7 separate regions of the Homo sapiens genome follow, and all the other regions are linked to region 2. The links are contacts of gene promoters, found by promoter capture Hi-C in blood cells and fetal thymus (Javierre and others, 2016). All regions are on one chromosome and are shown on one strand. The core of a region is centred on a gene start or on the middle of the fragment in contact, and the rest is flanking DNA. Distances in the headings are between cores, read along the strand shown.

Evidence for each region. The method cuts DNA at HindIII sites, captures the fragments that hold promoters and counts their contacts. A CHiCAGO score of 5 or more calls a contact.
Region 1: a contact is called between a fragment that was not itself captured here and the fragment with the promoter of TLR10 in region 2, in 16 of 17 cell types (total CD8 T cells, naive CD4 T cells, fetal thymus and 13 more). The highest score is 30.1, in total CD8 T cells.
Region 3: a contact is called between the fragment with the promoter of PTTG2 here and the fragment with the promoter of TLR10 in region 2, in 5 of 17 cell types (total CD8 T cells, erythroblasts, M1 macrophages and 2 more). The highest score is 9.1, in total CD8 T cells.
Region 4: a fragment that was not itself captured here is called in contact with the fragment with the promoter of TLR10 in region 2 in 11 of 17 cell types (naive CD4 T cells, naive CD8 T cells, total CD8 T cells and 8 more); the score reaches 11.5 in naive CD4 T cells.
Region 5: a fragment that was not itself captured here is called in contact with the fragment with the promoter of TLR10 in region 2 in 4 of 17 cell types (total CD8 T cells, M1 macrophages, fetal thymus and 1 more); the score reaches 5.7 in total CD8 T cells.
Region 6: a contact is called between a fragment that was not itself captured here and the fragment with the promoter of TLR10 in region 2, in 13 of 17 cell types (fetal thymus, naive CD4 T cells, activated CD4 T cells and 10 more). The highest score is 8.7, in fetal thymus.
Region 7: a fragment that was not itself captured here is called in contact with the fragment with the promoter of TLR10 in region 2 in 7 of 17 cell types (total CD8 T cells, erythroblasts, fetal thymus and 4 more); the score reaches 7.7 in total CD8 T cells.

What each region holds. Positions count from the first base shown.
Region 1 is chr4:38,055,265-38,058,713 of GRCh38, forward strand. All of the region lies in intron 14 of TBC1D1 (TBC1 domain family member 1), which reads left to right. It overlaps LOC124900692, which reads right to left and starts at 885. Exons shown (of 2, transcript XM_047416508.1): 1 at 516-885. The coding sequence starts at 702. RefSeq lists enhancers at 1-253, 2,316-2,485. The HindIII fragment of the contact is 8,507 bases long and covers 1-3,449 here.
Region 2 is chr4:38,781,583-38,785,564 of GRCh38, forward strand. It overlaps TLR10 (toll like receptor 10), which reads right to left and starts at 1,408. Exons shown (of 4, transcript NM_030956.4): 1 at 1,339-1,408. RefSeq lists enhancers at 288-497, 560-729. The HindIII fragment of the contact is 660 bases long and covers 781-1,440 here.
Region 3 is chr4:37,959,053-37,962,949 of GRCh38, forward strand. PTTG2 (pituitary tumor-transforming 2) reads left to right here and starts at 1,346. Exons shown (of 1, transcript NM_006607.3): 1 at 1,346-2,076. The coding sequence starts at 1,383. The coding sequence ends at 1,958. All of the region lies in intron 2 of TBC1D1 (TBC1 domain family member 1), which reads left to right. The HindIII fragment of the contact is 1,467 bases long and covers 174-1,640 here.
Region 4 is chr4:38,094,379-38,098,027 of GRCh38, forward strand. It overlaps TBC1D1 (TBC1 domain family member 1), which reads left to right. Exons shown (of 22, transcript NM_001396959.1): 16 at 1,551-1,712. Among named protein-coding and RNA genes, the nearest start is that of PTTG2, 140 kb to the left of the region's middle. The HindIII fragment of the contact is 629 bases long and covers 1,716-2,344 here.
Region 5 is chr4:38,115,018-38,118,851 of GRCh38, forward strand. It overlaps TBC1D1 (TBC1 domain family member 1), which reads left to right. Exons shown (of 22, transcript NM_001396959.1): 18 at 693-937; 19 at 3,016-3,175. Among named protein-coding and RNA genes, the nearest start is that of PTTG2, 160 kb to the left of the region's middle. RefSeq lists enhancers at 3,173-3,674, 3,306-3,475. The HindIII fragment of the contact is 5,058 bases long and covers 1-3,834 here.
Region 6 is chr4:38,078,165-38,082,117 of GRCh38, forward strand. The region is part of intron 14 of TBC1D1 (TBC1 domain family member 1); the gene reads left to right. Among named protein-coding and RNA genes, the nearest start is that of PTTG2, 120 kb to the left of the region's middle. RefSeq lists enhancers at 619-788, 889-998. The HindIII fragment of the contact is 4,572 bases long and covers 1-3,922 here.
Region 7 is chr4:38,039,516-38,043,433 of GRCh38, forward strand. The region is part of intron 8 of TBC1D1 (TBC1 domain family member 1); the gene reads left to right. Among named protein-coding and RNA genes, the nearest start is that of PTTG2, 81 kb to the left of the region's middle. The HindIII fragment of the contact is 1,210 bases long and covers 1,122-2,331 here.

The DNA of each region.
Region 1 (3,449 bases), core at 776-3,275, 730 kb before region 2:
TGACGAGCTACCCGCTGTAACCAAAGCGTGGGCTTCGGAGTCTGCTTTCAAATCCCAGCTTTTCCCCTTAGGAGCTGTGAACTAGAATAAACTGTCTAAAGTTACCACCTATAACCTGGGATTAATTATGCCTGTTGCCACACTGATAGAGACAAGGCAGCATGATATCATTACTGATACATTTTTTTTAAAGCATTCAAAATTCATAGTACTGGAAAGAAAATCAGTGATGCGAATGTTTCCAGGGTAATGTCACCTCCCATGCTGTGGAAGTCCTTCGGGTGAGCCTGGCCCCTTGCTTCTTTTGCCCCAGCCTTTCTATGTGGGGGCACCATGGAGCTGCCACTCACCAGCACCTTTTTTCCCTCAAGTAGTTTGTACCTATAAAGTATTCCTGCCGTGGGTGGCCCCTCGGTGGAGCTGCTGAGCCTAGCCAGGGTTTGATTTCTCTTCCTGCCAGTGTGAGCCAGATGGCCACATCTCTCTTCCCCTGCCCCGTGGAGAGGTCTGCTTACCGCAAAGAAGGGCTCTTCCTCCCAGGTCCTGTAGCACCCTGTTAGAGGGTGTGGAGTGGAGCAGTGGGAACCAGAGCCACCAGAGGGAGGCCCTGGAGGAGGAACGAAGCTGATTCATGTCTGAAAGGGGTGCCAGAACCCAAGTTTCGGTGTTTAATAAAGAGTGCCTCGGTGTTGCGGTGGCCATACCTCACAGGGCATGGTCGCTTGGAAATTTCTGCTCGGAAATGCTTTGTGCAGTGGCCAGGATGCGTTAGGGGCCACAGATGACTGCTTGCTCCATCATAGAACAGTTCCAAGTTTTCAAACGAGCATTCACAGACTGAGCCGCATCCTGCCTCCCTGTCCTCTGATTCCTGGCTTCTTCTCTGGTCTCTGAAGCCACACGGAAATGTGTTTGCATCTGTTTCCTGCCCTTCAGATGACAGAGGACCATGGAAGCTGCTGCCTCCTTTAGCTCTCTTCTCCAGGGGAATTGCCCTCGTCACTGTTTGGGAACCCCTGGTCCGAGTCCTGTCCTCCGAAGAGCCTCTGCCCCTCCTGGAGTCCTGAGTTGAACTTGGTGTTCACTTGGCCTCTGGCTCTGGCAGTGTGTTGCTCCTTCCGTTGACCTGCCACTGCTCTGTTAATGCAGATTGATCTTCATAATCTGTTTCTGCTTTAAGTGATTAACTCAAACATTCTTGGCTCTTATTCTATCTTGTCCTTTGGGATATGAACCATTATTTAAATTTGGACTGGTTTCCTGGCTTGGCACAGTTGACCATGCCTGTAAGCTCAGTGCTTTGGGAGGCCAAGGCAGGAGGATCCCTGGAGGCCAGGAGTTCGAGGCCACCCTTGGCAACATAGTGAGACCCTGTCTCTACAAAAAAATAAAAATTAGCTGAGCGTGGTGTTGTGAAGCTGTAGTCCTAGCTACTTGGGAGACTGAGGCAGGAGGATTACTTGAGCCCAGGAGTTTGAGTTTACAGTGAGCTGTGATCACACCCCTGCACTCCAGCCTGGGCAACAGAGTGAGACCTTGTCTCGCGGGGTGGGGGAGTCATGTCTATACTTGAGAAGTTTTTTTCCCTCGCATAGTTTGTACCTATAAAGTATTCATCAGTTTTGAGCAGTCCTTTTGCGATTGTTTTGAGTCTTGAGTCTGGTGACCAGTAAGTTGTATATATTTGCCTGTCAAGTGGACAAACATGGCCTTTGTGCCTTTAAGTAATGGCTAAAAGTACCAAACAGAACAGGGCCTGGCATAGATGCTGCTCCTCCTGTTCCTAGGCCGTAATCACCCCTGATTCATCAGACCCCAAACAAGTCAGCTCCTCTCCCTCCTGTGCCCCACCACCCAATCTCCTGCAGGAAGATGTCTAGAGACCCCTGTCAGCGCTAGGCAGAGATCACCATCCATGTCCACCTTTCCTCTGATGCAGGTTCCCACTAGCCCCTCTGGCTTGTGCCATGCCAGCCATGAACTCACCCTCATGCCCCACCCGAGCCCTGGCACAGGCTATTCCCTCTGCCTGGAATGCTCTTCGTCAGTATCCCCATGGCTCCCTCCCTCCCCTTCCCTTGTATCCTGACTCTCCCATAGCAGCTCTCTCCCTGTAACACATGTTCACAGGTTCATCTTTGTCACCCATCTCCGGCAGCTCCTGCAGGCTTGATGGCTGCTAAAGGCAGGCAAGTCAGTGGCTCAGATTCTTGCAAACTTAGTGATTAGTGATTTCTCAACTCCCTCCTCATGCCTCCTCTGTCTCTATAGGCACATATTATTTCTTATCTCTTCTCAGAACCAAGCCGCCTGAATTTCTGAATAACATTGTTTAAGTGTTCTGTGTATGCAAAAGAAAAACGAGAATAAAAGGATTATTAAGGAAGAATTAATATAATAATAGCCACATATTATGCTCTTTTTATACTCTGCTAAGTGCTTTACATGAATTATTTCCTTTAATTAGACAATCTTAAGAACATCGACATTTTTATGAAGCCCATTTTACAGGTGGGTGAGTGGAGGCTGGGAGTGGCTTAAATCACTTTCCCCAAACCAGGGAGTTAGTGGGAGCCAGAGGCAGGACCTGAGCTCGCGGGTCTGAGCTCCAAAGCTCATTCTCTGAACTGTGCACAGCACTGGGCTGCAGCCAGAGATGCAGGACGCTGCGGGACCCTCTGGAGGTGGTCCTGCCTGTGCTTCCCTCTTCCCACAGGAAGCTCCCTATAGGCATCTGTGTTGGGCGTGGACTCTCAGTGTACCTGCATGTCTCCCTGTTGGCCAGACACCAACACTGAATGGAAAACATGTTTCTGGGCATTTTAATGTACGTACTTGCCTTCAGTCAATCTCCTCCGCCCCCTTCCATCCTGACCGCCTCCCTAATAGTTAGCAGTGGGACTGGAGCTTGAATGGCAACTGATTTCTGTCTGAGAGGACAAATCAGGCATCTTTGTCCTCTGCCACTGTCTGTTCCCCATCCTTAGGATGCACGATGCCAGAGCCCTCCACTGTGGTCTGTGACCACTTTGACCCACACTAGCAGGTCTCCATATGTTCCTTCCAGCTGAGAGACATCACATCCAAAGACAGTTTAGAGCTCTGAGGTTTCTTTCCCCAGAGGTCCCTGCTTTGTGCAAACTGTCTCCAGCCAAGCGTGCACAAGACTCTGTTCCTGATTTGCCTGGGCGGCTGAGCCATGGGCAGCTGAGCCTGCAGCCGCTGGACTCACTGCATTCCCACTCTGACTTTGGCATGAAAGACACACAAGTGTGCTTGTGAGAAATAGATCTTAACAGTACCTTTTAACACCTATTTCAGGTGCTCAAAATGACTGCCTGTTTTACATTTATATTCTGGCAGTGCAAACTTCAATTGGACAGGAAATCTTACAACCTCTCTTCCAGGTGAAAAAGCGAGGCAGGGATGTTTATACAGTTCCATCCATG
Region 2 (3,982 bases), core at 158-2,657:
CCCTACTACTACGTTAAAAGCAGGTAAAAAACAGAGAATGACCTTCCTTAATACATCTTTAATATCTTATAATTTAAAAGTCCAAGTCAAAAGACATCATCAAATGACAACTAGTGTTTTACCAAAGAATATTTAATCATCTAATTTATCTTTTCCCAATGATATAAAGAAATAGAAAAGAGATTAAGAACCTATTGAATGTTGAATGATCTTTGCAACATAAGAGTAAGAATGACTTCTTTTCAGTATTTCCTACGTGTCTGACATGGAGCTAAGTGTTTTATGTCCATTACCTTGTTTAATCCCTCAATGACTCAACAAAATGGCGGCCATTATTATTCATATTTTACAGATGGAGGAGCTAAAGCCCAGAGGTAAAGTAACTTGCCCAAGATGACCAACTGAAGAAGCAGAGATTTGAACCCAGACCTGTCTGGTTCCTTCTGGATGGTAACTAAACCCAAATGCAAGGCACCTCAAACCTTGAAATGAGGTGGCTTAAGATGTAACGACATCCTAAGGACCGAATCACTGAGGTTGAATCCATTGATCTGACCAGCTGCCATGGCGGCCACTTCCTCCTTTCTCACCCCATGCCCCTGTCTATGAAGCTTCATGCAGCTGCTGTGGGACACTCTGCTAGGTGCCACAAAGTTCAAGAGACTTTGCCTACATGTATAAATATATTCTTAGGAAAGTTATAAGTTCACAAGAATTGAAATAAAACTCGAAGTGCATCCTATTCCTAATTAATAGCTCAGTGTAGGTGGTCTGGGAGAAAGCTTATCAAGAAACCAAATGCTCACAGGTTGTTAACCATCCTCTTCTTTACAGCAACCACATATGGCCCTCTTTGTCCACTTCTGAAGGAAACGGAATAAGAACTGCATTGTACAAGATCCATCAGATCTGCCCCTACTTTTAAACAGGTAACACAAATGCAGAACTTTTCAACGGGGTAAAGGAGCAACAAATATGCCTTAAATAGCCAAAGGTTTCATCCAGCAGAGGTTAACATACGCTGTGGGGAAATAAGAGCTAGAAAAAACTTGCCACAGTGCATAGGACCGTTCAATCTGAATAGAAGAGCTGACCAGGTTTGATCCGCAATCAGTGAAAAGAAACCCACGCTCTCAAGCATCTGCAAGAAATTCCTCAGATCAATAGCCCCAAGGTCACTAATCATTAATCTAGACAAAATAGTAAATACTAAAAATCTAAATAACCCTACTTCCCTCCCCTCAATATTAGCTCAAATTATCTCCTTTTTAGAAAATACCCATGCAGCCCTTATATCTTTTTAATGAGAGTTACAACAAACAAAGCTAAGGTTCTTACCCCACGGCTTGCACTCTCTCAGCAGAGCTGCAGGTGCGTGGATGATTCGTTGACACGGTCAGAATTGGCTGCAGGAGGGAATTGAATCGAGGTTTTCTGTAAAGCTTAAACCCCATCCGCCCTCTTCTGCATGCTACTGGTATTGCATGTTATATATATTCATTATAATCTTAGCACTTTTTTAAATTGTGGTCAAATACACATAACATAGGAGTTATCATGCTCACCATCTTTCTATTTTTATTTTTATTTTTATTTTTTTTGAGGTAGGGTCTCACTTTGTCACCCAGGCTGGAGTGCAGTGGTGTGATCACTGCTCACTGCAGCCTTGACCTCTTGCGCTAAAGCCCGCAAGAGGCTGGGCTTCTCAGTCCCGCAAATGTCTGGGACTACAGGCGCTCACCAACTGGCCTGGCTAAGTTTTTTGTATTTTTTGTAGAGACGGGGTTTCGCCAGTTGCCCAGGCTGGTCTTGAACTCCTGAGCTCAAGTGATCTGCCTGTCTCGGCCTCCCAAAGTGCTAGGATTACGGTGTGAGCCACCGCGCCTGACCTTAAGCATTTTTAAATGTACAATTTAGTGGCATTAATTAAGTACATTCACACTGTTGTGCAACCACCACCACTGCCCATCTCCAAAGATTTTTCGTCATCCCAAACTGAAATTCTATGCCATTAAAAAATAATTTCCCATTTTCCCCTTCCCTCAGACCCTGGAAACTATAATTCTACTTTCTGTCTGTGTGAATTTGACTACTCTAGGTACCTCATGTCCGTGGAGTTATACCATATTTGGTTTTTTGTGACTGGCTTATTTCATTGAGCATAATGTCTTTAAGGTTCATCCATATCATTTCTATTATTATTACATAGAATAATAGAATCTTTCCTTCCTTTTTTAAGGCTGAATACTATTTTGTTGTATGTACGTCCCACATTTTGTTCATTCATTCATCCATCAATGGACATTTGGGTAGTTTTCACCTTTTGGCTCTTGTGAATAATGCTGCTGTGAACGTGGTGCACAAATATCTATTTAAGTTGGTACTTAACATTCTTTTGAGTCTATACCTAGAAGTGGAATTCACGGATCGTATGACCATTCTGTTTAATTTTTTGCAGAACTACCATACTGGTTTTCCACAGCATCTTAGAGCTCTTTGATGATGCTTTTCTTCAAGGTGCAGGTCGGTTATCCCTTTCATCAGTTGGGTGGGGCAGTCATGTGATGATGGGCAGGAGTAGGAATGGTGACTCCATAATTTCAGCAATCAGGCAGGAAGAGGGTGGAAAGGAGTTATCTAGAGCAGTGGTCCCCAACCCCTGGGCCACAGACAGGTACCAGTTCATGGCCTGTTAGGAACCGAGCCACACAGCAGGAGGTGAGTGGTGGGTAAGCAAATGAAGCTTCATCTGTATTTACAGTCGCTCCCCATCGCTTGCATTACCACCTGAGCTCCACACCCTGTCATATCAGTGGCAGCATTAGATTCTCATAGGAGCTTGGACCCTACTGTGAGCTGCATATGGGAGGGATCTAGGTTGCGTGCTCCTTATGAGAATCTAATGTCTGATGATCTGTCACTGCTTCCCATCATGTCAGATGGGACCATCTAGTTGCAGGAAAACAGGCTCAGGGCTTCCACTGATTCTACATTATGGTGAGTTGTATAATTATTTCATTATATATTACAATGTCATAATAATAGAAATAAAGTGCACAATAAATGTAATGTGCTTGAATCATCCCGAAACCATCTCTCCTCCATCTCCAAACCCGGTCTGTGGAAAAACTGTCTTCCATGAAATTGGTCCTGGTGCCAAAAAGATTGGAGACCTCTGACCTAGAGGCCTTTTCTTGAAGTGAAGTGGTAAAATAAGCATGGTATTTTTTAAAATGTAGATCGCAAAGTACGGATCAATTTTTAAAGCAACATTTTTGAGGTTTTTTTCATACTTGACTTAAGATTTAGGTGACTGCTGGAGATCACGAGTAAAGAAGAAAATTTCCAGATGGATTTGTCTACAGGAGGAATGATCAATTTAAACATGAATGATTATAATAGATTTATGTCTTATAAAATTGGGGAGTGGGTGGGTTCTTAAAATACATTTTTTAACTATCATATTGGGGTTTTTAAATTTAAAATGTAGTCCATGTATTTCCACATATATTGTAGGGGGAAATCACACAAAATATAAATAACTGTAAAAAGAAAAACAACAGCAAAACAAAACCAGCTCTGCTCCTCACCTAAACATATACAAACATGTCTATATTACACAAACGTAGGAAGACAGGAACACCCGTCAGGAACGTTGGAGAGGGGATTCCCAGCTTGTTGGATGAACTAAGCTCTAAAATCTTTTTCATTTCAGAAATTCTCAAATTACTATGATCAGCACACTCACACTGTATATTGCCCTCTCAAGGAAAAATAATCACTTGGGGTTTTTGTTGTCCAAAGACATATTCTTCCTTTCCCCAGAGACCAACATGTTTAAATACTTTATTGTCAGAAAACGGAGAAGTTTTCTTTAAGTGTTTTTACATTTGTTTACCAAAAACAAGTTGAGCCAAGTAGAGTTGTTGCTTGTGTCATCTAATCATCATCATTAAGCTTGCATTTACTTCCTAAGTGCAGA
Region 3 (3,897 bases), core at 96-2,595, 820 kb before region 2:
TAGCTGTGTCAGGTTAAGAGCAAGACTTCTAATGATACCTTTGAATGGCCCTTTGTATTTGAGGTGGCCTTATGCAAATAAACAGGCACAGTTGACCCTTGAACAATGTGAGGGTTAGGGGCGCCAATCACCTGCATAGTCGAAAATCCACCTATAACCTTTGACTCCCAAAAAGCTTAACCGATAGTCTTCCGTTGACCTCACCAATAACACAGTCGACTAACATATATTTCGTATGTTTTATGCACTATATCCTGTATTCTCACAATAAAGTAAGCTGAAGAAAATGTTATTAAGAAAAATCATAAGGAAGAGAACATATTGCATTATTCATTAAGTAGAAATAGATCATCATACAGGTCTTCACCCTCATTGTCTTCACGTTGAATAGGCTGAGGAGGAGGAGGAAGAGGAGGGGTTGGTCTTGCAGTCTCAGAGGTGGCAGCCGCAGAAGAAAATCTGAGAACAAGTGGATCCATGCGACTCAATCCTGTATTGTTCAAGACTCAACTGTATATTTTTGCATATGGGCTCAAATACGTACGCACATATGTCACTGGGTCAAAGATTCATAGAATGAATTAGACAACAAGAATATTTATCATTGAATTGAAATGGCTCACTGCAAAAGTGCCCTCAACTTATCTCTAGGCCTTAGAAACAGAAGTGACCCTTTGCTGCTGTGAATCAATAGCCTGGACTAGATTGGGGTTGGGTTGGCAAAGGTATATAGTCATTGCCATAGTCCAGTATTCCTGCCCAAGCAAGCACCATTAGTAGTCACGTTGCTCAGAGAGGGCCTCTCGGCTCTCCCCACCACTGCATGCTGGATTGTCTGCCACCAGTAGATCAGAGTTGGCAAAAGGGATAACTCGGGATGAAACATTTGAGCATTTTGCAGTTTAGAGAAACTTCAGGGGTGCTGCTTTAGTAAAAAATGGAAGACTTGCATTTATTAAAGGTTAGTAAGAAGTGAAATAATGTATGCAAAAGTACATTATAAATTAGAAAATGCAATAACGGCAGAAACTATTTATTTATTGGTTGCTCTGCCCTTTACCTAAGTGGTTTTTGACCATTTAACAATGTGTAAGAGTTGGGTTTTACCTCCATTTTATGGATGTGGAAATAGGGCTTGGATGTTAGCTAACTTGCCCAAATCTTACAGCTAACAGAAAGTGGTACTCCCGAGATTCCTACCCAGGTTTGTCTGACCTCAGGCCTGTGCTCTTTATATGAGTTCATGCTAACTCTCAGATGATGTGCTAGGCACAAAAATTAGATATTACACCAATTTCCACTATAGTTAACATTCTATCTAAATATAAAGTGGGACCACGGTCTTAGATGAATGTGGCTGTTGAGAGCGGCAATAATCCAGAATGGCTACTCTGATCTACGTTGATAAGGAAATTGGAGAACCAGGCACCCGTGTGGCTGCCAAGGATGTGCTGAAGCTGGAGTCTAGACCTTCAATCAAAGCATTAGATGGGATATCTCAAGTTTTAACACGACGTTTTGGCAAAACATACGATGCTCCATCAGCCTTACCTAAAGCTACCAGAAAGGCTTTGGGCACTGTCAACAGAGCTACAGAAAAGTCAGTAAAGACCAATGGACCCAGAAAACAAAAACAGCCAAGCTTTTCTGCCAAAAAGATGACCGAGAAGACTGTTAAAACAAAAAGTTCTGTTCCTGCCTCAGATGACGCCTATCCAGAAATAGAAAAATTCTTTCCCTTCAATCTTCTAGACTTTGAGAGTTTTGACCTGCCTGAAGAGCGCCAGATTGCACACCTCCCCTTGAGTGGAGTGCCTCTCATGATCCTTGATGAGGAGGGAGAGCTTGAAAAGCTGTTTCAGCTGGGCCCCCCTTCACCTGTGAAAATGCCCTCTCCACCATGGGAATGCAATCTGTTTGCAGTCTCCTTCAAGCATTCTGTCGACCCTGGATGTTGAATTGCCAGCTGTTTGCTATGACATAGATATTTAAATTTCTTAGTGCTTTGGAGTTTGTGTGTACTTGTATTAATAAAGCATTATTTGTTTAACAACATAATAAATACATAAATATAAAGTGGGTCATATTCCTCTTTATGTGCATCTGTCTCAGCTGTCCCTTGTTTCTATATTTCTTCCATACTACAGCCCGTACTCTTTGGGGATATGTCAACATGATTTACTTCTGTAGAGAAACAGGAGACAGGAAATAGCAAAGGATAAAGGAGAAAAGGCCAGGGCCAGGCCAAGAACTTCTACATCTTTTCTTCCCAGCCTAGTGTGAACCAGATGAAAGCCTTAAGGAGGTCCTAGCAGCAAAGGGAGATAATTAAAAGAATGAGAATTTTGTGGAATGCTAAAAAAAAATAGGGAACATATTTGCAGCTAGGACTAACACTGATTATCTTAAAATGTCTATATGGCTAAATAATGTTCATGAAATCCCGTATCTTATTCTGCTAATGTCTTACAACTTAAAGCACTTTTATGTCCATGCCTTGAATTCTGTACAAAGCTTTGATAGAGTCACAGATGTCTGGTGTCAATCCAGATCACCTGAGAGGCTTCAGGGTTTCCTCTCTGGTTCCTGAATTCCAAGACTTAGTGAGTTTCCTAGGCCAGGAGCTGCTATTCATTATACATGTTAGTGGTTTTGCTCTTTCTACTGAAAGTGAGTGGTGGTTATGTCTCTGAACATGTTATTCCACAAAAAGCCAACTAGATGTGGCTATTTAAGAACCATCAAAGGCCATGACAGGCCAAAGTTTCCAAATCCCTCTTCAATCAAAGGATGCTGTCAGAACTGACCTCCAAAAAAGATGCAAGGTCTCAGTCCTAGGCTGTCATACTGGTCCTTAGAGAAGAGTTACAATTTTGTGATCTGCTCCACTCCATTTTGATTTTTGCTTCCATGCTATTTTAAAACTGGAGAAGGTTTAAGTTTAAAAATTCAAGACAAATCATAAAATATTTGAGAATTTACTTGTACATTGCCTGTCTTCCCAAATAAACTGTGGGCCCCATGAGGGCAGGGACCATCTCTGTTTTGTTCACTATGGTGTCCAAGTACTTCCCCCATATCTTGGAGCTGATTCTGTGGTGGGCTGCTCCAAGTAATCTTTATCTTGGGCCAGTAGCCACGCAGGTCAAGGATAAGTTTCCATTAGGTGTGGGCATAAGCTCCTACCCAGCCATTGTCCTCTTCACCAGAAGAACTAAATTTCATCTGTAAAGGAAGACATCACATTCTGTAAATGGTAGGGCCTCATTCTCCTGTAAGATTCATATTTCTGCATTTTGGATTCAAGAACCATAGGTGTATCCCATGGCAAGACAGGAAGTATTACTGGAGTCAGACTCCCTGGGTCTTAACCCTGCTTCCTCTGTTTAATGGATATGCAACCTTGGGCAAGCCGGTAACATCTAAAATTTTACTCTTATAGCTGTTGATAGAGACACTAAACGTTTAAATTTCTAAATGTTTACTGCCATATTTATGTATGGTTATTAGCATAGTAAGGATCTAAATGATATCAGAGTAGAAACTCAATAAATATTTGTTAGATGGATGAATAATTAACCTCTCAGACTTCAGTTTCATCACCTGTAAATAAAGAGGTTTAGCTATATGGTATCTTTGCAGTTCTAATATCCTGTGGACTTAGTTATGTTAGTAGTTATGATATTTTTTATTCTTGGTAATTTTTTCAGGATTACTATAAGGATAATAAGAAGTCAAATTCTAAACTGAAATAAGTCAAGGGAATTGAATAAAAACTTGGATAAAAAAAGAAAGTGTTTTAAAAATCACCCTAAGTCCAATGATCAGCTGGCCTTTGATTTAAAGTGTGTCTGTGGTCAGCCCACGGAAATAGTATACAGCTTCTCTGAAGCTCTT
Region 4 (3,649 bases), core at 780-3,279, 690 kb before region 2:
CAGTCAGTCCTCTTCCCCTATCTCTACAAGCTTACAAACCGCATGGGTGTGTGGGGGTCTTATTTAATATTGCGAACAGCTGGTTCCTGTATCTGAAGTTCTTGCCCTGGAGCCTGGGTGTTTGTTGTAGTTCTGCACCATCTGCCTTGGTTGATAAGGCATTTTGGAGGCCACTGATTTTAGGCAGCAGTGTTGTTAGGATACGGAAACAGCAGGATGTTTGTGGATTGAGCCTTTTCAGCTGAATCTTCTGGCCAGTTCTTTCTGGCTGTGTGAAGTTGTGTCGACTACAGAGCAGGATGCTCATGTTGCCTGCTGGGCTCTGTTAGGGTGGCCAGACGTGCTTGTAGCAGCCTTACTGCCAGAGGAACGTACGTTGGCATCCAGAGTCCAGTGCTGCCGCCAGTTGCAGTGCAGCAAGGCTAGCCCCAAACCTGATTTGCTGCAAGGATTAGCTCAACTCTAGTGACATTTATTGTGTTTTCTCATAGCCCAAATCACAGCCAAAAAAAAAAAAAAAAAAATCTAGGGTTGACATTTTTAAAAATTTTTTTAAAAAACATTTTTCTTGGTTAAATAATACATGATGGTTTAAAAATCAAATATTCATTGCAGTTCTAAAATCTCTGCAAGTGTGGGGGTCATTTAATTGCTGAGCCTCCCAGCCTCTTAGCTAAAAAATCTAGGGTTGACATTTTTAAAAATGTATTCAACAGAGTACGAGGGAAAAGATTAAAGATGGTGGATGGAAAACCATAAAAGCTGAGAGGAAGGCAGCACTGGGCTTAGAGTCACTTGGCTTCCCTCTAGCTAGTAAATAACCAGCACCAAATCACCTGATCCTCCTGAACTTCAGTTTCTGTGGCCATGAAATAAGAGGTTGGGTCCAGGAATCAATGTAAATTGTCAATTTAACATTTCCCTTTATTGATATTACTCCCCCCTGGGCTTGATAATTTAGTTATAATTCTTCATGCAGCTTTAGGTTGAGTAAGTTTGGTGGGAAACAGTAGCTCTCTTCATATATTTGAGAGATGTCATTTGAAAGGGGTAGATTTATTCAGTTTAACTCCAAGAAGCAGAAATGGGACCCATGGTAGAAGCTACCAAATGGAGGTTTGGCTCTAAATAAGAAAACGATCTTTGGAGTGCCTCTCCTAGTTTAGATGAAAAAAATTGCATCAAGTTGTAACCATGCTAGTCATTGGGAATTTTATTAACAACACGTAGCTCCTGTCCTGGGGAGGCTCATAGTTTGATAGGGGTAAGATGGAAAGAATTGGGCAGATGTGGATTATGTCTTAGCAGTAGAGCCAACAGAGTATGTTGGGGGTGAAGGGGTAAGAGAAATCACATACCTCCTAGGTTTTTAGCATTTTCCAAAATGAGGAAAATGGGTAGAGGCATGGACAGTGACTTATATTTAGACGCGTTAAGCCAGTTGTAACTGCTTGACGTCTCAGCGGGATAACAAGTAGGCAGCCATGTTGTGTAATGGAAATTCCATAGCTGTAGCCTTTACTAATGCGCTCTGGAATGGTCTATTCCAGCCTCTGAAAATGATTTGCTGAACAAGCGCCTGAAGCTCGATTATGAAGAAATTACTCCCTGTCTTAAAGAAGTAACTACAGTGTGGGAAAAGATGCTTAGCACTCCAGGAAGATCAAAAATTAAGTTTGACATGGAAAAAATGCACTCGGCTGTTGGGCAAGGTAAGCTTCATTGGGAAGCATCTAGTCAACCTCACCCCTCATTGGTGATTGGGGAGAAGTGTGGAATTAAAAAAAAGTCAAGTCTAATTTTAGTGGCCATCTCCCTTCTTTTCATCACATCTTAATCTATTTCCATATACCTTACTTAATAGACATGAGTTTCACCACCTTTCATGATTCCTCTTAATTAAAATTCCCAGAAGGCCGGGAAATAGGAAGAAGACAGAAAAACCCAAGGGTTTTGTTGCCTATAAACTAGATAATGATTTGATGATATACTTTGAATTAAATTATAAACTAGAAACTAATTGTATGGCTTGTCTCTGGGTACTCTAGGGAGACAACATAGTGTGGGGAGCACAGACTTCAGACAGGTGGTCTTGGGCTTAAATCTCAGGCCTGCCACTTACTTTGCAGTGTGATCTTAGACAAATGCCTCACCCTCTCTGAGCTCCAGTTTCTACAAGTGTAAGATGTGGGTGCTGACAGTGGATGTTGTGAGGAGCACACAGCATGTGTCTGCTATACTGTAAGGCCTTAGAGAGCGGGCAGGATTCACTGTTTTTTCAGTGAGATCTGCCAGCCCAAACTGTTACTGGTCCAAGAAGAGATAAGTACAGAACTTGAAACTAAGCTTTTGGAAATGTTTCCAGCAATGTGACACAGTGATCCTAATTAAAAATGTGGACTTATATTTTGTCCATCTGTTTTTTTTTAAATTTTGTTTTTCTACTAATTTATTTTTACTGTATCGTATAAAAATATCAGCCTGTAGTAGATTGGAAAATTTTTAAAAAGAAAAAAAATTGATGCTTCACAGATAGTTTGAGAACCGCTATTTTGAAGCTTACCTTCAGTCATTATTAGTGTTCTAGTCAAACAATGATTTCTTTAAAAATATATGTTAATGTCTTCTGGCAAGAGTAAAAGCCTGAGTCTAATCTGATTCTATGCTACTGAGTTCTGGTTGAGCTCATCATGAATAACCAGGTGTTCTGAATAAGGGTTTCAAGTATGTATAGAATGGGTTTTTCCTGAGTTTATCAGTTGTGCAGTGGGAAAACGTTGTATATGCACTTTTTCTTTTTTGAGATGTAGTTTCACTCTTGTTGCCCAGGCTGGAGTGCAATGGCGCGATCTCAGCTCACTGCAACCCCTGCCTCCCAGGTTTAAGCTATTCTCCTGCCTCAGCCTCCTGACTAGCTGGGATTACAGGCGCCCGGCACCATGCCTGGCTAATTTTTTGTGGGTTTTTTTTTTTTTTTTTAAGACAGAGTCTTGCTCTGTCGCCCAGGCTGGAATGCAGTGGCGTGATCTCAGCTCACTGCAAGCTCTGCCTCCCGGGTTCACACCATTCTCCTGCCTCAGCCTCCTGAGTAGCTGGGACTACAGGTGCCCGCCACCATGCCCGGGTAAATTTTTTTTGTATTTTTAGTAGAGATGGGGTTTCACTATGTTAGCCAGGATGGTCTCGATCTCCTGACCTCATGATCCACCCACCTTGGCCTCCCAAAGTGCTGGGATTACAGGTGTGAGCCACCGTGCCCGGCCAATTTTTTGTGTTTTTACTAGAGACGGGTTTTCACTGTGTTGGCAAGGCTGGTCTTGAACTCTGGACCTCAGGTGATCTGCCTGCCTCGGCCTCCCAAAGTGCTGGGATTACAGATGTGAGCCACTGCACCCGGCCTGCATATGCATTTTTCATCTCTAGGAGCATAAATGGAACAAAGCAGTGTTTTTTACTATAGTTTTTTAGGCATTTTTAACCTTTTCTGAATTTTGACATCAATTTTAGTAATCATGGGAAGTTATTGTTTGTTACGCATTTTCCCTTTCTATGGATAAGGAAACTTGGGCTTAGAGCAGTTGAATAGTGGCTTAGGGCCACAGAGCTGGGTTCACACCACCGTACTGCACTGCCTCCTGTTGAACAGGAT
Region 5 (3,834 bases), core at 817-3,316, 670 kb before region 2:
GCAGCAGTGGGGAGGAAGAACTGTGTGTGTTCCTCTTGAGAATAGGGGTTATGTCTAGAGGATTAACAGTTTTCTTTTTTCTTTTTTTTTTTTTTTTTTGGAGTTGGAGTTTTTCTCTTGTCTCCCAGGCTGGAGTGCAGTGGCATGATCTCAGCTCACTGCCATCTCTGCCTCCCAGGTTCAAGCAATTCTCCTGCCTCAGCCTCCCGAGTAGCTGGGATTACAGGCACCTGCCACCACGCCTGACTAATTTTTTCTATTCTTAGTAGCGATGGGGTTTCGCCATGTTGGGCAGGCTGGTCTCGAACTCCTGACCTCAGGCGATCCTTCCACCTAGGCCTCTGAAAGTGCTGGGATTACAGGCATGAGCCACCACACCTGGCCAACAGTTTTCTTTTTTCGATTGAAGTTCAGCTATTTGCAGGACCGAAGGTAGTTCTGATTACTTTCACCTGTACTTCCACCAAAAAATAAATAAAACAACCATGAGTAATTGCTGATTTTTAATTGAAAGCATTATTCCAGGAATAACTGGTGGACTTCGTTTGCAGAGGAAGTGGCAAAGACTGATTGATATTATGATCCAGCTTCTAAAGATTTTGCTGCTTAATCTGAAGCACATTGGATTTCTGGTTCAATAGGCTTTCTTTTTTTGTTTTTATTATTACAACTAATATGTATTCTTTTCACAGGGCGAACCTTTCCTACACACCCATACTTCTCTGCCCAGCTTGGAGCAGGACAGCTATCGCTTTACAACATTTTGAAGGCCTACTCACTTCTAGACCAGGAAGTGGGATATTGCCAAGGTCTCAGCTTTGTAGCAGGCATTTTGCTTCTTCATATGAGTGAGGAAGAGGCGTTTAAAATGCTCAAGTTTCTGATGTTTGACATGGGGCTGCGGAAACAGTATCGGCCAGACATGATTATTTTACAGGTATAGAGTGTTCCTTATGTCTTTAATACAACAAAATGCTAAGAATGTTTCTTATCCCTCTCCAGATGTGCCTCAGGAGCTTTTTCACCGTCAGGTAACATTGTAATAGCTGTCACTGCTGATAAAGGACTCTGTGCTAGGCATTATTCCAAGCGCTTCATCTGCACTTCCCTCTAAGGAAGACACTGTTCATCGTCTCAATTTGTAGATTGGAAAACTGAGTCTCCAAGAGATTATAAATTGGGCCCAGTCACACAGCTAGCAAGTGTCAGAGCTGGACTGGAAACCCAGGCCTCTCTGACTCTAGGGCCTTCCCTCTTGCCCCCATCAGCCATCAGATGATCTCAGACCTACCTCCCAGCCTCTGCATCTGCTCTTCCTCTGCCTCACCCCCACCCTTGTCATCTCAGGTTCAGCTCAAATATCACATCCTGGGAGAAGCTCATTCTGACTACCCTGATGTTGTGTTCCCCACTTCCACCTTGGGCACACTGCGTCACGTTATCCTGGCTGATTTCTTTTGCACAACACAGCCACTGCCAGAAATGATCTTGTTTCCATAATCATCTCCCTGTCTATTTTCTGATTTTTCATAGCCTGTGAACTTTAGGAGAGGGAAGGGATCTTACGGGTCTTGGAGCCGAGTTCCTAGTTTCTGAAACAGTGCGTGGGTTGAAGTAGGCACCCCATAAGTATTTGTTGAATGAACAATTCTGTCAGAGAAAACCAAACACAGTAGCGTATTGCAAATACCACGTGCTGCTCTTGCTGCCTGTCAGAGGGAAAACTCTGGATCCTGCTTCAGGAATATTCCTAAATGTTGCAGCACATGTTGATATGTTCATTTACTACCAGTAAGATACTATGCCTTCAGAGCTCTAGAGAGTATCCTGGGAGGGAATACATTAGAGCCAAGGACTTGCTTTGAGAGCACCAAATTATGTGATTCAAAATCTTTTCACCTTGACCTGTGAACATGGACCACGTGAATGCAAATATCATAGAAGGAACTCATTCACTGAAAGATTTTGACCACATAACACTTTCCACATGTACTGTGAGGTTCTTCCTACATTCCCTTTATTAACTTTAAAGACAGTGGTCACCAGGCAGTGGAATTTTTGAGTTTTCTATAATTTATGTAACACACAACTCTTTTGGGGTGGTGCCTTTGGTTGATTAGACAGTCTTCGATATGGGAGAGCCACAGCTGGTGCTTATGGGATTATATTATCTGAGCCTCTGAAAACGGTTTTGTTTTCTTTCTCTCAGTTTAGATAGGACATATCCAACTTGGTGGATCTTAGCGGATTCTGACCCTCTGTAGGTTGTTGTTTCTTTAGGCTCAGGCCGTGGCACTGCTCAGATCTGGGCTGGCTCTCGGGCCTCTGTGAGCCTGTAACTCTTGGTGGCACTACTAGGAACTGGCATGAGATTTCTGCCAGAATCATGTCATTCTGTGAAGTTGGAGTTCCACTTTAGTTGGAAAAAGTTTTTATTTCATCTTAAGATGCACACTTGTCTTCTTGTTTTAACTTGCCAGGTATCTGGATATTCCATATATTATACACCAAAAGAAATTATGCTTCTCCTGCCTATTGAGTAATTTCAGGGGTCCAGAGGGAACTTGCTGAGTGAACATGTACAATGGATTCCTATGGAATCATAAGATGCCCCTAATTCAGTCTTAGTAAAGAGACTGGCTTCTTATTTCTAATTCCTCCAGGCTTGAGTTGTGCAAAGAGTATGTATTTGTAAGAGAATTTATGAAATGTTTGCACAAGACAGATTTTTAGATCTTCTTAGTGGAGGAATACAAGGGAACAATAAAAAGGAAGTGGCAGTAGAAGACCCAGCGTTAGCGTCCTGGGCCTACACCCAGCCAGTGCCTGGCACCAGCAGGCACTTGGGAAGCACTTGTTGGATGAATTAGTAGCTGAGCTCAGTGGATCGCAAGCCAAATCGAATGTTTAAAGTTCTAGTAAGTCTTCTCTTACACCCACCCTGTGAGCAGTAGGCATAACTTTATTGCTGTGGCAGATCCCTAATTCTCAGCCCTTGTGGCTGTCTTCCTGCAGATCCAGATGTACCAGCTCTCGAGGTTGCTTCATGATTACCACAGAGACCTCTACAATCACCTGGAGGAGCACGAGATCGGCCCCAGCCTCTACGCTGCCCCCTGGTTCCTCACCATGTTTGCCTCACAGTTCCCGCTGGGATTCGTAGCCAGAGTCTTTGGTGAGCATTAGTAAATCTGTTTGCCAGAACCAGCCTTCTCTTATTAGAGGGGAAACATTTCCTGTCTCTCCGTGGTGATTCTTATTTTTATACCTGTAGCTCTTACCAGAACAGGGTATTGTTTGATAGTCTAAGATTAGTCAGGGGTGGGTTTTGTGACTTTGGAGTCCTCCTTAACTTCTGATAATCACGGGGCTTCCCTAGATGCCTTCATCTTGTGGGATGTGGATCCGATCCGTGTAGATCCGATCGCTCACCATGAGGGTCTCCCTAGAGCAGACATTTGGAGGACTTGGCTGAGGAGCCACAGGTGTATGTTTCTCATGAATTGCCTTCCTCAGCCACTCTGGGTTGTGAGTATTGACTGATGCTGACTGTGGGCCTCTGGGCCCTTTCTAGATTCCCTTGGCATCTCTTCCTCCCCTTTCTCTTCTTGCCCTGCCCTTGGCTCTACACTTTCTCCCAAGTCACTGTCTTGGAGACCAGTGTCAGGACCTTGAGTAACACCTCCGTGTGGATGGCTCGCTCTCCCCGCTCAGCCTTGACACTTCATGAAGGCCTCTTGCCCCTGAGCCCACATGTCACAGCCACTGCCACTCCCGTGCCCCCGCTGTTAACCTTGGGTGGTTCACATGTAAAACCTGCCTTTATATTCTTGA
Region 6 (3,953 bases), core at 387-2,886, 700 kb before region 2:
GCTCAAACAAATCCCTTTCTGGCACCCCCAGGCCTTCCCTCCCGCTTCAAAAAAATTCTGAATTGTGCCAATCCATTGAGGCTCAGCTCAAGGCCATCCCATGCCTTTCCATCGTAATAAAGCCTTGTTTCCTGGGCTTTAAACATATTCCTTTTTTCTTAGGTACAGATTGAACTTTTTTAAAAGGGAAGTTGTCAGAGGCTCTGTAAAACGTTAAATCAAACCTGCTTTGTTTTAGGGATGGGGTAGCTTGGAATCAGATTTGCTCCTGCTATGGACTGAACATTTGTGTCCCCCCAAAATTCCTATGTTGAAGCCCTAATGCACAGTGTTATGGTGTTTGAAGGGAGGCCCTTGGGAGGTGATTAAGTTTAGATGAGATTGTGTGAGTGAAGCCCTCATGAATGGGATTACTGTCATCCCAAAAAGAGGTAGAGACCCCAGAGCTTCCTCTCTCTTCACCCTGTGAGGATACAGCAAGAAGGAAGCTCTCTGCAAGTCAGGAAGAGAGAGGGCTCTCACTAGAATACACTTGTACTGCCACCCTGATCTTGGACTTCCCCTCCAGAACTGTGAGAAACAAATGTGTGTTGTTTAAGCCACCCAGTCCCTATGATTTTATTAGAGCAGCCCGAGCTCCATTCTCCACTCCCTGGCTTCCTGCATGGACTTTGCAACCAGAGCTTCACGGGGTATAGTTTAATAGCTGTTTCTCTGTAACATAGCCACTTTTCTCTTTCCAGGTCTAGTTTTGACCCTCATAACACTTTGTTAGGGGAGATTTGAGGGTGAGGAAGTTGGCTTGCTTTTCTTTTCACCATGTCTCAGTAGAAACAGAAGCAGAAAGGCCCTGAGATACTGAGCCCACCTTTCTCAGCAGGGTGTGACAGCCCGGAGTACCCTGGGCTGAGGAGGCCAGGGCTGGAGGGGAGGCTCCCACGGTGGAGGGGTTGAAAGCTGGGTTGTAATGAGCTGCTTTTCTGTAGATGCCTAAATGATGTGGGTTGAGAAATCGTGATCTTAGCTTTTAGTAGTATATTTTTCTGTTTATGTTAGGTGAGTCATCAGTCTGTCTCTGACTATGTTCAGATCTGGAAGTTTTCTGGAAGGAAATTTGTTATTGCTGTAATAGTGTAGGTTGTTGATCTGGATTAGCAGGGAGCGGCCCCTTAATACATTCTTAAGAAAATGGTATTTAGTTCAGTCTTTGGCTTTGAACTTTGCCTTTGACAAAGATGAAAGTGCGACTTGACTGGTGTTTGAAAAACATGGTGATATGGCCAGGTGTGGTGGCTCATGCCTGTATCCCAGCACGTTGGGAGGCCGAGGCGGGCAGATCACCTGAGATCAGGAGTTCGACACCTGACTTGGTCAACGTGGTGAAACCTCATCTCTACTTAAAATACAAAAAAATTAGCCAGGTGTGGTGGTGTGCACCCATAATTGCAGCTACTTGGGAGGCTGAGGCAAGGGAATCACTTGAACCCTGGAAGGCGGAGGTTGCAATGAGCCAAGATTGTGCCATTGCAGTCCAGCCTGGGCAACAAGAGCGAGACTCCATCTCAAAAAAAAAAAGCAAGTTATATTACATTTTAAAACTCTATTTAATGGTCAGGTCATCCATCCATAATGGGTAGAGTCATTGCTTAATTAATTTAAAACAATGTATTTAAAAGGTACCTTTGTTCCCTAGTGTCACATAACGTGAAATATCCAATTAAGGTAACTGTAATGTAAAGTAAGTGGCTAAAAAAGTGCTGAACGCCAAAGGCCAGAGATTCAACCTTTTGTGTGCATTAGAATTTCCCAATTGTTCAAATCCAGGTTGCTGGATCTACCCCAGAGTTTTTGATCCAGTAGGTTTGGGGTGGGACCAAGAATTTGCATTTCTAACAAGCTCCCAGGTGGTGTTGAGGCTGAAGCTCGTGTGGGGACCACATTTTGAGAACTTCTCCCGTAGACTGAACTCATGGTCTAGGTTCTGTCAGCTGTGACCCCTGTGCTGCTGGAGGGAGTGGTCAGATGTCCTGACCTCTGTGCCCACAGTGAGGTCCAAGCTGAGTAGGTTTGACCAGCAGCTGTAATCACAGAGTGAACAATGTAAACGACCAATGTTGGGTGGTCTGACATCTTTTAAAAAAAATCCACGTGGATGAGATCACAGGGTTAAGTGTGGGCAGCAGTCAGGGTAACTCCATGTGGTTACTGCCCATGCACTCTCTGCTGTTTTTCACCTCTTCTTCAGAGTGTGGTCAGGATGGTGGCCTTGCCCAGCACAGGAGGCCCTTTTCCTTCTGACCACCTGACCTGACCCACCTCTTAGCATCTGCAGGCACTCCCTGTCCCTTCGCTGGGCCCCGTGGGGAACTACTTGCAGTCATCAAATTCATCATGCTGCTTTCTTTTAATTCCCACACTTGCCAAGGTGGGACTGCCCCGCATCTCCTTCCCAGTCGTGTGTCAGAACTCAGCACTGGACCTTTCCCCTTTCCCCACTCCCACCCCTCCTCACCCCGACGAACGTCTCACTTGGGATCATCTCTTCTGAGGTTGGACCTGCACAGCCGCCCTCTGCACTCTCGCCACCTTATGGGCTGCCCTTGACCCCTTGGCACACAGACCTGGAAGTTGGCCTGCTCAGCTGTCTCCTTAGGGGTGGAGCTTGGTTTTCTTTCATCACTGTTCTGCGATGAATTGAATGCATGATTGGTCACAGGAAGGTAGGGGAGGGATAAACACCTTATGATATGTTTCTTATAAGGTTTTATATGTAGAAAGTTATATGAAAGTGTCAGATATCTATATATGAAGTATATGTGAAGTTTTATGATAGTTTTGCATAATTTAAGAATAAACTCTTTAAAGGAGCTGAGTCCCAATCCCTTGGGTCGAGAGTTGCGTGGCTCCCGGGGCCTGCTTGTTTCCTTCCACTCTGCGTGTTCGTTGCTGGCCCCTCATAGGCTGTCCCAGACCTCTTTGACTTCTCTCCTTTCTGCCCAGTCTTCCCTGAGACGCTCCAGGCTCCCTGGCCTCCTGCTTCTCGGAGCTTCTCTTGTGTTTGTTTTCTGTGCTCAGGGCGCCATGGTGCTATAGGCCACAGAGGAGGCGTCTGGGGTCCCTCGGGGCAGGTGCAGCAGGAGGAAGCCGTCTCCGAGGGCATGACCTTGGAACTGAGCATTGACAGAGGAGAGTCAGCCAGACAAAGAAAGGCCAAAACCCCACCCCTCTCCCACCCTATTTCTACGTGACCATGGGCCCTGGACACAGCAAGACGGTGACCCCGGGCCTCCTATTGTTGCGAGGAGCCCCTGGGAAAATGTTGGCATTTTCTTCATAGAACAGGTTTCTCTTCTCCAGTATTCTTCAGTAAATCAACTTTCTTTTTTATCCCCAACCCCAGTCTGATTGCGAAGAAGTCTAAGCAACAGAAAGATTTTGCCAAATAGATTATCTTTTTTAGAACAAAATAGATCATGATATTAATAGGAATTCAGCACTTACTCTTGTCTAAGTACTGTTTTTAAGTGCTCTCAAGGATTTTTCATTTAATCCCCACAACAAAGCTGTGGGGGGTGGATGCTATTATTATCGGTGATTTATGAATGAGGAAACTGACACAGAGGGGTGGTCGAGGAGCTTGCCCATTTCCTGGTAGTTAGTACCAGGGCTGGCATCATCAGTTGCCTGCTCCTTTTCCTCTTTGCTTTTGTGTCCATTACCCCAAGGCATTAGGATGAGCCAGCCAAGTTCTAGTCCTGGATTCACCACCTAATTAGCTCTGTGTCCCATGTCTTGCCGTGGAGGGATAAAACCAATTCCTAGCTTATCCGTTGGTGGTGAAGATGAAATCAGTGGGGTACTTGTAAAGCACACTGCCCAGCACATAGTAAGTGCCCAGAAAATGTGACGTCGGACCTCTTTAAGCTTCAGTTTCCACATCTGGGAAGAGAGGG
Region 7 (3,918 bases), core at 477-2,976, 740 kb before region 2:
GTTGTTGCATGTATCAGTTGCTTGTATCAGTAGTTTGTTCCTTTTTGTTCTGTGGTATTAATGTCAAGAGTTTCTTTCTCCATTCTCCTTCTGAGCTGCTTGATTATGAATAAGGCTGCTGGTAGATACATTGTGCCAGCCTGGGATGGTGAGTTCTGAACTGAGAATTTCAGTATAGCATCAGGATTTAAAGCTTGAATACTTGAATCCAAACTTTCATGCTTAGAGTTTACCCCATCTGTTGAAGGATGTGCAATATAATGACTGCAATAGAATTCACTGTGGAGCCTCCAAATTAGAAATTATTGTCTGTGAGGGCCAGGCACGGTGGCTCACGCCTGTAATCCTAGCACTTTGGGAGGCTGAGATGGGAGGATTGTTTGAGGCCAGGAGTTTGAGACCAGCTTGGTCAATATAGCGAGACCCCCATCTCTGTTTTTTTTTTTTAAAGAAATTATTGTCTAAGAACCAGTGTCATCTTCCAAGGAGAAACTTCTAGATACTTGTTTTAAGATAAATAAGAAACAAGTCATTTCTAAATGTGAATTATTTTTTAAATGCAATTTTTTAAACATTTTATTTTAATTATGGCAATAGACGTGGAAAAGACTCTTTTTTGATAGTAGGGGAGAGCAGAAGAAACATTGAATTAAGTACACAGAGATTCTTCAGACCTGCTTTAAAAACACATGCATACAAATGCACTTCTGTCTCTTAGGATCTACTAACTGATGCTGCTTGCTTTAGTCTTTTAGCTAATATTTTCTTTCTTTCTTTCTTTCTTTTTTGTTGGAGACAGAGTCTCGCTCTGTCGCCAGGCTAGAGTGCAGCGGCACAATCTTGGCTCACTGCAACCTCCGCCTCCCGGGTTCAAGCGATTCTCCTGCCTCAGCCTCCTGAGTAGCTGGGACTATAGGCGTGCGCCACCACGCCCAGCTAATTTTTGTATATTTAGTAGAGACGGGGTTTCACTGTGTTGGATGGGATGTTCTCCGTCTCTTGTCCTCGTGATCCGCCTGCCTTGGCCTCCTAAAGTGCTGGGATTACAGGCGTGAGCCACTGCGCCTGGCTCATATTTTCTTTATATATCAAAACAATTCAGCTTGCTTCACTTTTATGAAAGCTTTATTATGAGTTTGAAAGCAATTCTGCATTTTCTTAACATTGTAACTGGTGTTGAGTTGAAGGCAGGCCCCTGGGAGCCCTTTGTGGGCAATTCCCTTCACTCTGGAGGCTGCCTCGAGCCTGGACAGGCACTTACACTTGGTCAGTGATTGCACAGAACCGGTTGCAACAGATTCTGTGCACCTCCCTGTGGCGCGTAGCATTTAGCAGGCACTTGGTCACTATTTGCTGAGTGAGTCTGTTACCTTAGGCGTGTATTTCCCGTGGACCTGCCTGGGGATCATTGCTCATTCACTCATTTTGAACAAGCCAATATTACATGTCCAGGGTACGCTCTATAGTGTGAAACACAAAGGTAAATGATAGTTCCCCTTCTCAAAGGAATTTCTAAGGTAGTAGCCATTCTTTTGATGCATATTCTCATTCTCATAGAGAGTCCAATTATGGATAATTGGACAAAGCTGAATGTCGCTTTTATGAGAATCCATTCTTTCTCTTTTATGCTTTGAAAAATGTGTAGCATTCATTAGTGAATTAGGATTTCATTATTCAAAGAAGACATAAGGTCTTCGAACAGCAGATGACTGAATAAAATAATACCTAACAGCAGTAGAATGAGGGGAGGACATATTCAAGGAACATTTTATGCCCATTAGATTGGCAGAAATTTTTAAAAAGTGACAATACCGTATAAAGGTGAACTTTCCTATACTGATACTGGGAACATGAATTTGTACCATTCAGGGAAGAGAAACTTGATAATATCTGGTGTAGTCTGAAGGGGCACAGTCCCTGTGACCCAGTGAGGACATTCCTCATTATTTCCCTTGCCAAACATTTCACATGAGTCTATAAGGAGCTCTATATAAGAGAGGTCACTGCAGCCTCCTTTGTAAGAGCAAGAAAAAAAAGCAAATAAGTGTTTAACAATAGGAACATAGATAAATTAGGTTATGCAGTGAATATTTGCACTCTGACTAAAGTGAGTGAATCAAAAAAAATTTGTCAACAGGAATAAATCTCAAAAATAATATTGAAAGAAGAAAGCTAATTTACAGAAGGATGTGTACAGTATGACACCATTCATTTAGTTTCAACTACATATCTTTTATGGACACATACATATAAAAGCAGAAAACATGAATTGATAGGATAAACACCAAATATTTCTGCATATGGCCAGGTGTGGGGAAGTAGTGGTGATTAAGCTTCAAAGATGTCTGCAGTGGTTCCCATTAAAAGTAGAAAGTAGGCTGGGCACAGTGGCTCACGCCTGTAATCCCAGCACTTTGGGAGGCCAAGGCAGGTGGATCATTTAAGGCCAGGAGTTCGAGAACAGCCTGGTCAACATGGCGAAACCCCATCTCTACAAAAAAAATACAAAAATTAGCCAGATGTGGTGGCGCACACTTGTAGTCCCAGCTACTCGGGAGGCTGAGGCATGAGAATCACTTGAGCCCAGGAGGTAGAGGTTGCAGTAAGCCAAGATCGTACCACTGCACTCCAGCCTGGGTGACAGAGTGAGACTCCATCCCAAAAAACAAGCAAACAAAAAAAGCTCATAGAGTAGGTAATAGTCATGATATCTGATGTTTTTTGATTGTCTGGTTTACATTTTTTATTTTTATTTTTTGAGACAAGTCTCACGCTGTCACCCAAGCTGGAGTGCGGTGGTGCGATGTCAGCTCACTGCAATCTCTGCCTCCTGGGTTCGAGCGATTCTCCTGCCTCAGCCTCCCAAGTAGCTGGGATTACAGGCGTGCACCACCACACCTGGCTAATTTTTATATTTTTAATAGAGACAGGGTTTCACCATGTTGGCCAGGCTGGTCTCGAACTCCTGACCTCAAGTGATTCATCTGCCTCAGCCTCCCAAAGTTCTGGGATTACAGGCATCAGCCACTGCACCTGGCCTTGGTATATGTGTTTTAATTTGTATTCATTCATTTAAGCCTCATGACAGCTCTGCGAGGAAAGTTCACTATACGTCTTCAGGCTGCAGGTAGAGGACCTGAAAGGGACAGGAGGTAACAGTCTGGCCAAGACCACAGAGCCAGGGAATAGCAGAGGAACATTTCACCTGGGCATTGCACTCCAGAGCTGGGCTTCTCACTGTTCTCAACCCCTGGCAAATGCTCACTTGAACAAAGCCAGGTGGTGATACAAAGGTATTTGTTATATTAGTCTCTACACTTTTCTGTGTGCTTGAAATAACTGCAACAAAGAATATATCAGTATTTAGAGTAATGGGGGATTTGCTTGTGTGTGTTTGTATTTTTGAGATGGAGTCTCGCTCTGTCGCCCAGGCTGGAGTGCAGTAGCATGATCTTGGCTCACTGCAACCTCCGGCTTCTGAGTTCAAGCGATTCTCCTGCCTCAGCCTCCTGAGTAACTGGGATTACAGGTGTGCGCCACTACACCCGGCTGTTTTTTGTATTTTTAGTAGAGACAGGGTTTCCCCGTGTTGGCCAGGCTGATCTCAAACTCCCGACCTCAGGTGGTCCACCCACCTTGGCCTCCCAAAGTGCTGAGATTACAGGCATGAGCCACTGCGCCTGGCCGTTTTTTTTTCTAACGAAATTATTTTCTAACAGAAAGCAATCAGGTGAGAATCCACATAAGAAACAATTTAATTCAGAGATTTTTGTTGCATATTAAAAAAAAAATGTACCTTCGGCTGGGTGTGGTAGCTCACTCCTGTAATCCCAGCACTTTGGGAGGCTGAGGCAGGTAGATCACTTGAGCTCAGGAGTTTGAGATCAGCCTGGCCAACATGGTGAAACCCCGTCTCTA